2 separate regions of the Homo sapiens genome follow, and region 2 is linked to region 1. Evidence: promoter capture Hi-C in human tissues and cell types (Jung and others, 2019). All regions are on one chromosome and are shown on one strand. Each heading gives the region's core, a stretch centred on a gene start or on the middle of the fragment in contact. The rest is flanking DNA. Distances are from core to core; before and after follow the strand shown. Region 1 holds the start of TMEM67 (transmembrane protein 67). Region 2 has its middle 70 kb from the start of GEM.

Region 1 (7,901 bases), core at 3,359-5,858:
TTAAATTTATAATAGAAGAAATGAAAAGTTCAATTCAATGTTTGACAGATACGCGCAGGAAAATCTTCCAGAAAGTAGAACCAAACAAAACAAAATGAAAAATGAAGCCTGGGCGCGGTGGCTCACGCTTGTAATCCTTGCACTTTGGTAGGCCGAGATGGGTGGATCACCAGAGGTCGGGAGTTTGAGACCAGCCTGACCAACATGGAGAAACTCCGACTCCACTAAAAATAACAAAATTAGCCCTGCGTGGTGGCACATGCCTGTAATCCCAGCTACTCGGGAGGCTGAGGCAGGAGAATCACTTGAACCCAGGAGGTGGAGGTTGCAGTGAGCAGAGATCGTGCCATTGCACTCCAGCCTGGGCAACAAGAGCAAAAAAACTCCGACACACACACACACACACACACACACACACACACGCCGGGCGCGGTGGCTCACGCCTGTAATCCTAGCACTTTGGGAGGCCGAGGCGGGCAGATCACGAAGTCAGAAGATTGACACCATCCTGGCTAATACGGTGAAACCCCGTCTCTACTAAAAACACAAAAAATTAGCCGGGCGAGGTGGCGGGCTCCTGTAGTCCCAGCTACTCCGGAGGCTGAAGCAGGATAATGGCGTGAACCCGGGAGGCGGAGCTTGCAGTGAGCGGAGATCCCGCCTCCCGCCACTGTACTCCAGCCTGGGCGACAGAGCGAGACTCCGTCTCAAAAAAAAAAAAAAAGAAAAAAGAAAAGAAAAATGAAAACATAATCTGAGAAAATTAGAGGAACAGTCCAGGAAGTCTAGTATCTGAAAAATAGGGTGTCCAGAAGAAAAAAAAAACGGAGAGAAAGTCTTCAAAGGAATAATTAGTAGAAGAGATCATTTCCCAGTGTTAAAGGACATGAGTTTCTTTGCTGAATTGCAAAGTTACAACAGGTGTTCCACACAAAAGATGACAATGAAACATGCCCAGACACATCACTGTAAAATTAAGAAAAATGAGAAGGTGGGGCACAGAGAGGAACATCCTGAAGACTTCAAGAAAGTAAAAAACAAGTTACACACAAAAGATTAACAAATCAAAAGGGCACTAAGTGTCTGGAGATTGGGAATGAACACAGGGTTCACCACACAAAGTGCCCCAGATGTAAGATCTGAACCTCACTAATTCCCCTTTCTCACCACAACCTCCACTTCTGTTTTTCACCTTCTTTGTAATATTTTAATTCATTAATCTCATCTTGAACTTACTTGCCTTTAGCTTTTCTTTATTCCTGCCCAGAAAAGCACATCCAGAGATTCAAAGGCAACAATAAAAAGCAGGGCTTAAGAGTGTGGGCTCTGCATTATCCAAAGCAAACTTGTCACAGAGAAAACCTCAAAATCAGGGTTCAGCCTGAGTGGCCATGTGGGTTCTCAGCTTCATGCAGGAAGGAATTCAAGAGCAATCTGACAGAATAAAGTGAAAGCAAGTTTGTTAAGAAAGTAAAGGAATAAAGAGTGGCTACTTCATAGGCAGAGCAATGGCAAGGACTGCTAGACTGAGTATATTTATGGTTATTCCTTGATCATATACTAAACAAGGGGTGGATTATTCATGAGTTTTCCAGGAAAAAGGTGGGGAATTCCTGGAACGGAGCGTCCTCCCTTGTTAGACCATGTAGGGTAACTTCTCTAAGTGGGCATGGCAAGGGGCAAACTGTCAAGGTGCTGGTGGGAGTGTCTTTTAGCATGTTAATCCATTGTAATTAGCATATAATGAGCAGTGAGGATGGCCAGAGGTCACTTTGGTCACCATCTTGGTTTTAGCAGGTTTCAGTCCTCTTCTTTACCTATCCTGTTTTATCAGCCAGGTCTTTATGATCTTATCCTGTGAAATCAGTCCTGCCAACCTCCTATCTCAAACTAACACAGGAAAGAAATAAAATACTGTGTGTTCTCACTTATTAGTTGGAGCTAACATTGTGTACAGGTGGACACAAAGAAGGGAACAATAGATACTGGGTACTACTTGAGGGTGGAGGGTGAAAGGAGAGTATGGATCAAAAAACTACCTATTGGGTTCTATGCTTATCACATGGGTAAGGAAATAATCTGATCCCCAAACCCCCGAGACACTCAATTTACCTATATAACAAACCTGCACATGTACCTCTGAACCTAAATTAAAGTTTAAAACAACAACAACAACAACAAAAACCCGAAGAAAAGTATGGGCTCTGGTGTCAAATTACCAGGGTTAGAACCATGAATTAAGTGTGACCTTAGAAAGTCACTTATACTTTCTAAGCCTTGGTTATTTCATCTGTAAATTAAAGGTGATGATAACAGTCCCAATTTAGGATCAAATGAGATATTGCAATGCCGGACACATTAAAAGTGTCTCCATGGGACTAGCCCAAACTGAGCCTACTCTGTTGATAACAAAATGTCGTGTTACCTTTTAGATGTAACAGAGCCAAAAACTGAAAGTCATGTAGCCCAGTCATGTGCAATAGAAAAAGCCTGGACCTCTAACAACACCCAAAACCAGTGAATCCTTTCCTTGGAACCAAGACCGGGACATGACTGGAACCTGAACTTGGAACTCTTTCAAAAGTGTTGGGTCCATTTGCCTGGAGGATCAGGCCTAAAATCGGCCTCTACGTACCTTTTTCTAAATGGTCAAATTTCAAGTCCTCCATTCTGCCTGCCAAGACACATTCCTAAATTCTTCCCTTGGCTTTCCAAGCCCATAAGTTTACCCCAGACTCTAAATCAGGGAAACAGATTTGAATGCACTCCTATCTCCTTGCTGACCAGTTGTGCAAATAAAGACTTTTTTTCCTCAAAAGCTTGTGCCACATAGTATTGGCTTCTGTGCATGCATTGGATAGAGAGCTCATTTGCTTGATAACAAAAACAAGCTATTAATACCTATTATTTCTATTATTATCCATACCTCTAGCTCCCACCATGTTAAATATTCCTATAACTTTCATTTCTACCTTAAAATTTTCTTTATCCAATAAGTTTTCGCTTAGAAGCTATCTACCACAGGTATCTTCCTTTAATATCACAACCGTCTACCCAGCCACCCAAATCAGAAACCTGGAAGTTATCCTTGATTCTGTTTGTTTACTTCCTATGTCCAAATAATAAAATTCTTATAATTCTTCTTCCTGAATAGCTCCTTTATTCATCCTCTTCTGCCTCTCCCTTCCTCCATGGCTCCAATTTAGACTCTAGATTTCTACCTTAGCCTCGCAAGTGGTCTCTAACTCTAAACGTTTCCATATTTTTGTCCAGGATTTTTTTTTTTTTTTATATAGGGTCTCTGACATCCAGGCTGGAGTGCAGTGGCACGATCATAGCTTATTGCAGCCTTTGGGCTCATTGACCTCCTGGGCTTAAGTGGTTCTCCCGCCTCAGCCTTCCAAGCAACCGGGACCATAGGCATGTGCCACCCACCCAGCTAATTAAAATAAATTTTATTTGTAGAGGTGGAGTCTCACTATGTTGCCCAGGCTGGTCTTGAATTCCTGGGCTCAGACAATCCTTCCACTGTGGCCTCCCAAAATGTTAGGATTAGAGGTGTGAGCCACAGCACCAGGCTTAGATTCCTTTATTCACAAAAGGTGTAAAGGTGATCTCATTTTATATACATGTCAACTAAAGAAAAAAATCAGGCTTTTAAAGACTCAAAGTTAGTTTTATTCGGAGTCTTACTGAGGAATGCAACCCTGGAGAGTCTTTCAAAGAGTTTATGTTATACTGGTCCAAAGCAGCTGTTCTGCCCCCAGTTTCTACATCAAGGGATGGAGTTCTGCATGTGCTCAAAAGTTACATTAAACGTGCTCAGAAGTTACGTTGGAGCAAAATCTCATCAAAGTTTTGTTTGGAGACTACATCTGGTTATAGATTACAGAGGCATAATCATTAATCCTGTCACACGTTATCTTACGTACAGGAAGAGGCAAGAGCTAGGATCGCTGACTGTATCTTTTTAAAAAATGAAGTGATTCAAGCAACAGATGTGAAAACTTGTGCTCTATCCTACTTATTGTCTTCAGGGCATTCTTCTGGAGGACTGCGTTCAGTCACTGAGTCAGGGGCTTTGTGAAATTTCGCTGGCAACAGAATGAGCAAACATGGTTTCTTCCGTTTCGTACTTTGTCTCGCATACATGATTTCCTATGCTCAAACCTGGCAGGAAAGTTTTTTTATTTTTTCAGTCTTTGAGCTATAGTAATCCTTCACTGGGTTTTAAGTCAGTGGGGTTTTTTGACATCAAATTGTTAAACTACAAGTCATGTTTCCTTTAACGTGAAAATTACCTAGTCTGAATAAATTCTGATGTAACTATAACTCGACAAATTATGATATTTTCAACTTACGATGGGTTTATTGCGGGGAGGGGGCAGCCCTATCGTAAGTAGAGGAACTCTATACACGTTTGAAAATATCGCTGGGCTCCAGGGTTAACCGGTCTCTAACCCATTCTTTACTGGACCTGCCAACTTCGCGCAGGGTTGGTAACCTAGCAACCAAGCAACACGAGCAGTGACTTCCGGTACCCGGACTTGGGTTGTCCAATCAGCTCAGCGAAGCCGCCGCAGAGGCTGATGGGGGGCTGGAGGCTGTGAGGCTTCCAGCGTCGGTACCATGGCGACGCGCGGTGGGGCTGGGGTGGCAATGGCGGTTTGGTCCCTCTTATCCGCCCGGGCCGTGACCGCGTTCCTTCTGTTGTTCCTCCCTCGCTTCTTACAGGCCCAGACCTTCTCTTTCCCTTTCCAGCAGCCGGAGAAGTGCGACAACAACCAGTACTTTGATATCTCCGCCCTCTCGTGTGTTCCTTGTGGAGCTAACCAGAGGCAAGATGCCCGAGGTAAGACGGTTTGCGGTGGGCCCTGGCAAAAGTAACACTCCCGCCTTGGTCGGCCCCTAGTCCCCGTAAATGGAGTTTCACCATGTTGATCAGGCTAGTCTCGAACTTCTGACCTCAGGTGATCCACCCGCCTCCGCCTCCCAAAGTGCTGGGATTACAGGCGTGAGCCACCGCGCCTGGCCCGAATACATGTATATTGTTTAGTGACGTAGAAATGTAAAATTTCCAGCAGCAGTTAAGTAGTTTAATAGTTTAGTTATACTTGCACTTAAAATGGTAGCAGCATAATACCAGCTGTGTGCCAGTGTAAGACCTCTACGTATAATAACTAATTTTGTACTCATACTAACCCTGTGAGGTAGGTACCAATTTTTTTTCTCCATTTTATTGTAGAGGAAGCCAAGGCAGAGAGTTTAGTAACTTGTTCAAGGTCATGCAACTGAGTAGGATTACTACGATTGGAACTCAAGAAGTGTATTTCTGGATTTGAACCCAGGCAGTACTGCCTCCAGAATCCTGCTGTTAATCACTATACTGCTTCTCAAGATCTTCAGACTTATTAAAAGTTTCACTATCTGGGAACTTTATTTTTATTTATCAAGGATAAAATTGGCTTTTTTTTTTTTTTTTTTTTTTTTAGGAACTTCATGTGTATGTCTACCAGGATTTCAGATGATCTCTAATAATGGAGGACCTGCTATTATTTGTAAAAAGTGCCCAGAAAACATGGTGCGCATAATTTATTTTAAAATAACTTACCTGTAAAAAGTAGTAAGTTAAATATCTTTATTTTTCAAAATATAATTTAATGTTTAATGTTTCCCCACAGACTTTAAAATTACTATGCTAATTTTATTTTTACTAGAGTAAGTTTTGGGAGATCAGCGAAATTTCATGCAAACTTGGAGAAAACAGAAATGTATTTCTTTTAAAATCTGAAATCCAAAAACCACAAAGCTGTAAAAATTTAAGTTTTTGTTTTTACTCGTAGAATAACTCGGTTATGAAGAAAATTAGATGAATAAGGCATATATAGAGCAGTCTGGGATGTGTGCAATTTGGGATGTGTATATTCTTTTGACTGATGCAAGTGGAGTTGTCTTAGACCTACCATGTCAACAGTTTATATGATTATTGATGTTCATAATGATATCTAAGGTGTAATTATTTCATGAAATACCAATTGCATTAATAGATTAAATAATGTCTGTTTCTGTTTTGTTAGTAATTTCATTGTATCGTAATTTAAAAAAAATTAGTAAATAGTTACTATATATAATTCTCAACATAAATATATTTTTCAATCATGTTGGATAATTAAAAGTCTGTGTAACAGTTGTGACATTTACAGTAATGTTTCTTCTCATTGTCATATAAAAAATATTAATTCTGGGAATTTAATGTGAAGTTATCAATTGTCCCAATTTATAGCTATCTGTATTACTTGTAAGTCTGATTACCACTTTTTATATTACCATTTATTTTATATCTTTATAATAGATTATAATAGATTACCATTTATTTTATATCTTTGCAAATATTGATCCTAGCTGAATTACCCATGATAAAAAGCTGCTAATAAAAAGTGGTCTCGCAGCAGATTTCTTTTTCAGTGACATTGTTTAAGTTATTGTAATTTTTAAATTGTCCTGTATAGGCCAGGCACAGTGGCTCATGCCTGTAATCCCAGCAGTTTGGGAGGCTGAGCCTGGTGGATCATGAGCTCAGGAGTTTGAGACCAGCCTGGCCAATATGGTGAAACCCCATCTCTACTAAAAATACAAAAATGAGCTGGCTGTGGTGGCGCGTGCCTGTAGTCCCAGCTGCTTGGGAGGCTGAGGCAAGAGAATCGCTTGAACTCAGGAGGCAGAGGTTGCAGTAAGCCAAGATTGCACCATTGCACTCCAGCCTGGGTGACAGAGCGAGACTCTGTCTCAAAAAAATAAATAAAATATAAATAAATAAATAAATAAATAAATAAATAAATAAATAAATTGTCCTGTATAAATGTATTGCCAAATATAGGAGTATTTCTTGATAAATTCAGTCTTTTCAACCAAAATTTAAAATAATTTGTGGCATTATTTTTGTTCTTTATAAACTTTGGTTACATCTGTGTTTGTAATTATTGTGTTTTTTGCCCCAGGCTTTTCCTAAACCATATGATATAATAAGCCCAATTTTGAATGCTGTCATACTTTATCAAAAACCTTTACTAGGCCGGGCGCGGTGGCTCACGCCTGTAATCCCAGCACTTTGGGAGGCTGAGGCAGGTGGATCACGAGGTCAAGAGATCAAGACCATCCTGGCAAATGTGGTGAAACCCCATCTCTACTAAAAATACAAAAATTAGCTGGACGTGGTGGCACGTGCCTGTAGTCCCAGCTACTCGGGAGGCTGAGGCAGGAGAATTGTTTGAACCTGGGAGGCAGAGCTTGCAGTGAGCCGAGATTGTGCCACTGCACTCCAGCCTGGCAACAGAGCAAAGACTCTGTCTCAAAAAAAAAAAAACCTTTACTAGTACAAGCCATAAATGGATAGAAGAAAATATTCTCATAAATCAATTTTAACAACTATGTGTATAATTTATATATTTCATAAAATTTACCCATTTTGAATCATAAATGAATTTTTTTTTTTTTTGAAAGAGAGTATTACTGTTGCTCAGGCTGGAGTGCAGTGGCACGATCTCAGCTCACTGCAACCTCCACCTTTCTGGTTCAAGCCATTCTGGTGCCTCAGCCTCCCAAGTAGGATTATAGGCATACACCACCACGCCCAGCTAATTTTTGTATTTTTAGTAGAGACGAGGTTTCACCACATTGGCCAGGCTGGCCTCAAGCTTTGGCCTCAAGTGATCCACCCACCTTGGCCTCCCAAAGTGCTGGAATTACAGACGTGAGCCACTGTGCCTGGACTAAATTTTTTAGGTATTTGAATTTTTAAAAATTAGAATAGAGTTTTAGAACAGGTAAGATTAACCTATTAACTGACCGTTGATTCAATCTTTTTGTGTTGTGTTGTGTTTTATATTTGTAAATGGAAAAAC
Region 2 (7,901 bases), core at 1,844-4,343, 580 kb after region 1:
CAAACAACAACAACAACAAAAAACAGGAAACATTTCCATCAGTGCCAATACCTCTCCATCTTCCCAATGAGAGTAATGCTGAAATTCCACAGGAAGATAGCTGAAAGCTATCTTTGCTGTTCTAAACATCACTGTTACTTGCTTTCTATACTCACTAGAACCAACACTCTAACCTTTCCAATTAACCTGATGGTTACCAAATGTAGAAAACCTATCTGAGTGGTGCGTGCAAAAGATATACTGTGCTTCCAGACATCATGCACTCAAGACCTTGGAATTACTTATGTGGGTACAAGTAATTGTATAATGTCACTGGATTAAATTCAATAGAATCTTTTTTCATTAAATGTGATTATATTCCCTTACAGTATGTTATAAAGGGGCCACCAAAAAGTAAATTTTCCACTGGACCTTGTTGGAAGCTATCAAATTTGACTGACCTCTGCTCAAACACAATTAGGTGGCCCTCTTTCCAACCCCCAAAGGCCTATATCAGATCTTCAGAAAATCTGCTTGTTCTGTTCTGTCTCCTTGCTTGTTTGGATCTTGCTATTTGGCGTAGCTCACTCCTGCCTGTCAAATTCATTCCCCTGGAAGTCTCCATAATAGCTCCTATAATCAGAGGCTAAAATGGTCAATAACCAAAATTATCATCAACCTTCAAACAGACAAAGTTAAGCTAGTTTCCACTGAGGAAAGATTCCAGTGGGGTATCTGGGGGCTCACTCTTGGTGGTAGTGGAGTACTGATTGTATGGAATTTGAAGCTAATCTATAAATTGGAGAAAATCTTCAAGTTTGTGGTCAATCAGATCTCCCAGGGCTTCAGACATGTAGAAGCCACTCTCTAAAAGGTGAATAATAACATACATGTTCAATAAACACCACGCAATAAAATATCATAAAGCTTTAAATCTCCTTTTTCCTTCAATTTGGGGCTTATGATTGGTACTGAATAAAAATGTATGCTGTACCCATCTCTCTGATTTTGTTAGTACAGAAAGCTTAATTTACAAGGTGGCTAATACTGCTGTTTCCATAGACACTGCCATCAAATACATTAAGGAAATTTTTCAAGAGAAAGAAACATAGGATGTGTTTACAAGAGCAACTAACATTTGGTTTGCAGGCATTCTAAAGGTGGATAATAAGCTTGGGTTTCTCAAGATTTTCTAATCTTCATATTTCTTCTAGTGGGTCTCCAAGTTATTATGACTTGTGTTACCAGGCTAACAACAAAAGTCAACCACTCTTTAAATCAGGCCATTTTACAGCAAACTATGGTCCTTAATCACCATAACACCCCAAACAACGACTATAATCAATTAGTTGCAAATACTGTAGAGCTGCCTCTATTGCCTGAACTTTGACTTGTTTGATTTGGTTTGATTCATTTCATAAGGACTCTTAAGAAGTATGCTTTGGTCTTTTGGTATTATCTTCTTGATTGTCATCATATTAGTTCCGCTGGTATGCTATATCTTCTCAAGTCTTAAAAATTTTGTATGCAGCCATTCATTGAGTGTTGAATGCTCTCACTTTGATTAATTCAGCAAGAACATAATTATTCAACTGATGTGACATTGCAACTTATGAATTTTATACTATGAACAAATAAGATTTGTGAATTCCACAGAGACCAAACAAGTCCACCTATGATAGTGACAGAGGGTGGCATCAATGCCCAAAGTTTGGGTCAGTCTCTCAAAATGGAGATGTTGACCAAAAGGAGAGAACTGTTAAATCAAACTAAACTTGGCCTGAGACAAAGCCTCTGTACTTGCATGCTTGAGTCCTTATGTAACAAACTGCAACCTAACTTTGTATGTAAATAAACTGAAAGCCTCATTTAGGAATATTCTTCTGTAACAAATAGCTGTGTCTCAGCCAATCACAGCAGCTTGACTTTAGTCAATCACAGGTGGCCAACTCTTCAAACCATGTTGAAATAAGCAAATGCCAAAGTGTAACCAAGCCAGCTGTTTCTGCACCTCACTTCCATTTTCATACATCACTTTCTTTTTTCTTGTTTTTTTGGTTTTTTTTTTTTTTTGAGACAGAGTCTCGCTCTGTCACCACACTGGAGTGCAGTGGCACGATCTTGGCTCACTGCAACCTCCGCTTCCCAGGGTTCAAACGATTCTCCTGCCTCAGCCTCCCAAGTAGCTGGGATTACAGGCATGTGCCACCACGCCTGGCTAATTTTTGTATTTTTAGTAGAGACGAGGTTTCACCATGTTGGCCAGGCTGGTCTTGAACTCCTGACCTCAGGTAATCTGCCCGCCCTGGCCTCCCAAAGTGCTGGGATTACAGGCGTGAGCCACCTGGCTCGTCACTTTCTTTTTTCTGTCCAAAAATGGTGTATGACCATTTGACAGCCCCAGAGTTTCTCTGAACCTGTTCTAGTTCTGGGGGCTGCCTGGTTCATGAATTGTTCTTTGCCCAATTAAACTATTAAATTTGTCTAAAGTTTTTCTTTTAACACTTATGTCCAAAAATTATCATGACATTTTAACTTTGTTACTTAGAGTTACCCATTTAAAAGCAGTATATATGAATTTTAAAGGTCCAGTGTTTTTATTATACTTATTAGAGTGGGGGAGGGAGGAAAGACAGAAGGTAGAAGAAAAGGAGAGAAGAGGAGAGGAGAGGAGAGGAGAGAAGTAGAGGCGATTGAAATTTTTTAAATCTCAAGAGAATAACAATCAAATCACCACATGCATCCTGCTAACATTTCTACAATGTGTGAAATGTGTGAAACATATCTAACGCCCATTTTTATTAGCGAATGTGGAACAATGCACAGTCTAAACTGAGTTAACAGAGACCAGTTTTCCCCAACAGTAACGCAAAGCTCAGTGTGTCCCTGGCTGGATATCTGATTTGCTGCTGTCTTCACCTGTTGATCTTTTCTGGACCTTGACTCCTCGCAAAGTGATCCTTGGCCCTCAGCCAGGAAGTTGTTTGTAATTATCTATCCTGCTGCTCTCTGCTTGTCCATTCTTTACAGCGGTGTGAAATCATGACAGGATGCCCAGGCCTGTGTTAGGCAGTAGGACATTAACTCAAATTGCCTAAATGGTTAGGGTAGTTACATAAGACCCTCTTCTTAGTGGAATGCTTTTTGTTTAATATTTTAAAAATTTCCTCCATTTCACTATTGGAACTTCTTATTCCCCTGTCTAGCCATACAGACATGTATTTAGGTGCAGTATCTATTGTCTACAATTGCCTAGAATATGGTGGATACCCCCACTCCAATGGGCAGTCCTTGTCCTGATATTCAGGGTTACCCACGCCCTATTAAAGCTGGTTTCTAGACATCCTTATTGTCTGGGAAGTATTCCCTTTCTGTTAGCTGAATAACCATTATTAATAAAACAGACCATTAATGAATCAGCCCTAGTCTTAATTGTTTGGGCAAGTCATGACGGACCAAGTCACTTCTCATACTTGTGACCCAAGGATTCAGTGCCAAGGTGAAAGAAATATTTTCTCTTCTTTGTGGCTTTAGAACCTGCATTAGTCCATTCTCACATTGCTATAAAGAATACCTGAAACTGGGTAGTTAATTAAACTGGGAGGTTTAATTGGCTCATAGTACCGCAGGCTGTACAGGAAGCATGACGCTGGCATCTGCTCTGCTTCTGGAAACTTTCACTTATGGCAGAAGGTGAAAGGGAAGCAAGCACATCTTACATGGCCAGAGGAGGAGCAAGAGAAAGACGGGGGAGATGTCACACACTTTTAAACAACCAAATCTCACAAGAACTCACTATTGTGACAACACCACCAAGGGGGATGGTGTTAAACCATGAGAAGTTGCCCCCATGATCTCCAATCACCTCCCACCAGGCCCCACCTCCAACACTGAGGATTACAATTGAGCATGAGATTTGGTGGGGACACAGATCCAAATCATATCAGAACCAAAGGTTTAGCCAACTAGAATATGAAGTGAACTACTGACAGAGACAAAATTTTACATATGTTTTCAATACCAATCCAATTTTTTTAAATGAAATTTCAAATTGTTATTGCTTACAGGCTTTTATAACTCTTCAACACTTCATTAAGGCTCTTCTTAAGGACCTCCATGTCTCCCTCCCACCCAACCTTACATGGTTTTTTATTCTTCCCAGACATTTCTCTTCTCCTCTGACATCTAGAATACTAAGCCATCTGGCCCACCTATCCAAAGCTACCCCATCGCCAAAGTCCAATTCACATCACACGTCCTATGAAGCTCTCATTGATGTTTGCAGCACACATTGATTTCTCCTTTCTCTTCATATTTGTAATAGTTTCATGGACAGCCCCAGTCAATTTATGCTACTTTGTGCCACTCTCCAATGACACAGGGAAATCTTGGAAGAGTTTAATATTGTGAGCATATTTGCTTTGGCTATTCCACCAAACCCAACATTGAATACCATACTAGGCATTTATGAAGTTACATTCAATCACATATTGGAACTGTGACACTGAGGTTGCTAGTTTTGTTGATTAGAGGAACTGTGCTACCATGCCCAGAGGAAGCTTCATATGAGAAAAGCACAATGTTCCTATAAACAAAACATACCAGATTATTGGGTTATTAATCAAACCTCCCTATGTATTATTAATAGCTACCATTTATTGAAATATCTAATTTTTTTAAAGTATAAGGATAATGTTATAATATTTATCATATTTATTTCAGATTGAATTAGAAATACAATGTTACAGGTTTACTGGAAATCCTCTTTATTCCTACACCCATTCTTCTCCCTCTCTAGGCACTGGCAACTACTTATTAAGAATTTGTGTGTATCCTGTTGATGTTGTTTTTTTGTTTTTGTTTTGTTCTGTTTTTTGAGACTGTTCTGTGTTAGTATCCCATGGATCTACATCTGTTGATTTTTTTCCCCAACAGAATTATAAAACTTTTGAGGGCTTATAATCATAATATTAATAATTATAATATATTAATAATAGCTACCACTTATGAAGTACCTACTGTGTGCCAGGTGTTAGGTATAACATTTGAAATATTATTTAATTTCAGTTAATGCTCATGCAATCTGATGATTTAGGTAATATTTCCATTTTAAAAATGAGAAAACTGAGGCATGAAGAGTTTAAATAGCTTGCCTAGACTCACACAGGTAGACAATGGCTAAGCCAAGAACAAAACCAGGTTACACAGGGCTTGAAACTTATACAAGTTGGGGTAAGCAGGCTCTCTTAAAGAAAAAGATCTCAAGTATACAAGTATACATATACAAAATTAGGTAAGAAAGAGAATATTCAGAATGAGAACAGAAACAACTAATTACTTGAGCCTTAGATATGCAAGCCCCTTTCTTCTAAGAGGGCTTTGGACAATTCCCCTAAAATATTTATATTGAAAACACTCCCTGGTTGCCACCTGGCTTCCATCAAGAACATTATGTAACATGCAAATGAACCTGAAGCAGCATTAGCTCATGATAAGCCAGGCCCTGAGGCTGAAGCAGCATTAGCTCATGGTAAGTTGGCCTCTGAGCAGAGATGGGATTTGGTCTTTTCCAGAGCCCAGATCTCAGGCACCTCTTCCCAAGGGCCTGGTACAGTGTTCAGCACATATTAGGGAGCTGTGCCCCTGTATGCTGTCCACCTTCTTCACTCTCTCTCATGCCCTATGTTAATTCTCTTATAATGTCTAATATTACCTACAGTTATCTTACTTGCATGTTTATTGTCTGTTTCTCCCAAACTCCATGAGATCAGGGACCTTGTCAACCTTTGTTCCTCATCGTATCCTCAACATTTAAACAGTGCCTAAGCCTAATTCACAGTATCAGTGAAGATCTATTGAATAAATGAAATAAATGTTGGCTAAAGGAACACATTAAAATGCATTTGGTTTAAGATAGATCAAAACTTAGGGAATTCATACCAGAAAAAGCTTTAATAACAGAGTTTATAGTATTTGATTGTTTGTCTTGAGGCAGGGTCTTACTCTGTCCACCCAGGCTGGAGTGCAGTGGCAGGATCATAGCTGCAGCCTTGACCTCCTAGGCACACGTTATCCTCTCACCTCAGCCTCCTACATAGCCAAGACTACACAGGCATGCCACCAGGCCCAGCTATTTTTTTTTTTTTTTTTTAACTTTTGTAGAGATGGGCTCTCACTATGTTTCCCAGGCTGGTCTAAAACACTTGGCCTCAAGCGATCTTCCCACCTCAGCCTCCCAAAGTGCTGGGATTACAGGTGTGAGCCACCATGCCCAGCCAGAGTTTACAGTGTTAGAAACAATGAGTTCATGTAATCTTCTTTATTTATTTTTATTTTTTTATTTTTTGAGACAGAGTTTCGCTCTTGTTGCCCAGGCTAGAGTGCAATGACGCAATCTTGGCTCATGGCAACCTCCACCTACTGGATTCAAGTGATTCTCCTGCTTCAGCCTCCCAAGTAGCTGGATTACAGGACTGTGCCACCATGCCCGGCTAATTTTTTGTATTTAGTAGAGATGGGATTTCACCGGTTGGTCAGGCTGGTCTCGAACTCCTGACCTCAGGTGATCCACCCACCTCGCCCTCCCAGTGTAATCTTCTTAAAAGCAAATTTATATTTTGTACAAACTATGCATTATATTTAGCTCATTTTCTTATAAAAACATTCAACATTTCAAACCCCCAGTGCAATGAATGAATAGTTCTTCAGCAAGAGTTATTAACTTTTGTTTATAGCAACCATAATAAGGCTGCAATCTAAAATAAAAATATTTAAGAATTATCTTAATTAGCATGGTAATCAAAAAGACATACCCCACGTGCTTTGGGAATCAACAGTCATCTAAAAAAACAGTAACTTCTTTTTTCCAGTGGTAGTTTCTTTTTTATATTTATAGAAATGTAAATTTTGTCCCTTCATGGATTATTTATCTTAAGAAACCATTGGGAAATCAAAAAGGAGAAATGTTTGTTTCTAGGCTATGAATCATAGGAGAAAATTGTACTAAATCTGTTTTTTTTTTTTCACATTGGCCTACTTGAAAGACTATTTCATTTTTTTTTCTCATTTTACATTTAATGAACCCGATCAAAATCCAAAATAGTACAGTTTTGTTTCATAAAGTTACATAATTGTTTTTGAGGAAAAATATAGACTACATAAAGTGATTGCCTGAGATAAATATTTGAAGTTAAAATATCTTTTATTTTCAGTTCTTCTGTTGAGTACGGCAAAAAAAAAAAAGGTCCTCAAAATAACCATAGTTAATGTTTCATTTGATAATGGTTCACTTCCCTGTTGACTTTCCAAGCATCCATCTTGGAAAGAAGAAACAAGCCTCTGTTTCTGTTTACTTTGGTTAACAAGATTTCAAAATCTTCGTTCAGTCTTCTGTTGAGTTTTAAGAGTATACTTGCAGCATCAATTTATTTATATTGCTATCAAATGTATGGGGTTAATAGAACTGGAACAATTGACTGGCCAGCTGCAAAAAATGTTAGATACCTCATTGTTTACATTAAAAAAAAATCCAGAAGAATCAGAAACTTAAACAGAAAAAAAGAAAGAACAAAAGTGAAAGAAGAAAATATAAGGGACTTCTACTTCTTGCAATAATAGATTAGGTAATTCAACCAACTATCCTGTTTAGAACAAGGAAAGATATTTTAAAACATGTACCTGCCATATATGATACAACTATTCCATTCCGAGGTATTTACCCAAAAGAAATAAAAATATATTTCCACAAAAAGACTTTTACACAAATGTTCATAGAAATTTCATTTGTAAGAGCCCAAACTAGAAACAATCCAAATGCCTATCAACTGGTAAATGGATAAACAAATTGTGGATATAGCTATGCAACAGACTGCTACTCAGTATTAAAAAGCAGGGAACTACTGATATATGCAACAACACAAATC

What was found. Contacts are between HindIII fragments. The study calls those that stand out against the background at their distance.
Region 2: a contact is called between a fragment that was not itself captured here and the fragment with the promoter of TMEM67 in region 1, in 1 of the 25 tissues and cell types used here (mesenchymal stem cells).

Annotation. Positions count from the first base shown.
Region 1 is chr8:93,750,286-93,758,186 of GRCh38, forward strand. TMEM67 (transmembrane protein 67) reads left to right here and starts at 4,609. Exons shown (of 28, transcript NM_153704.6): 1 at 4,609-4,852; 2 at 5,493-5,581. The coding sequence starts at 4,630. The HindIII fragment of the contact is 11,912 bases long and covers 1-7,901 here.
Region 2 is chr8:94,328,630-94,336,530 of GRCh38, forward strand. No RefSeq gene overlaps it. Among named protein-coding and RNA genes, the nearest start is that of GEM, 70 kb to the left of the region's middle. The HindIII fragment of the contact is 4,279 bases long and covers 955-5,233 here.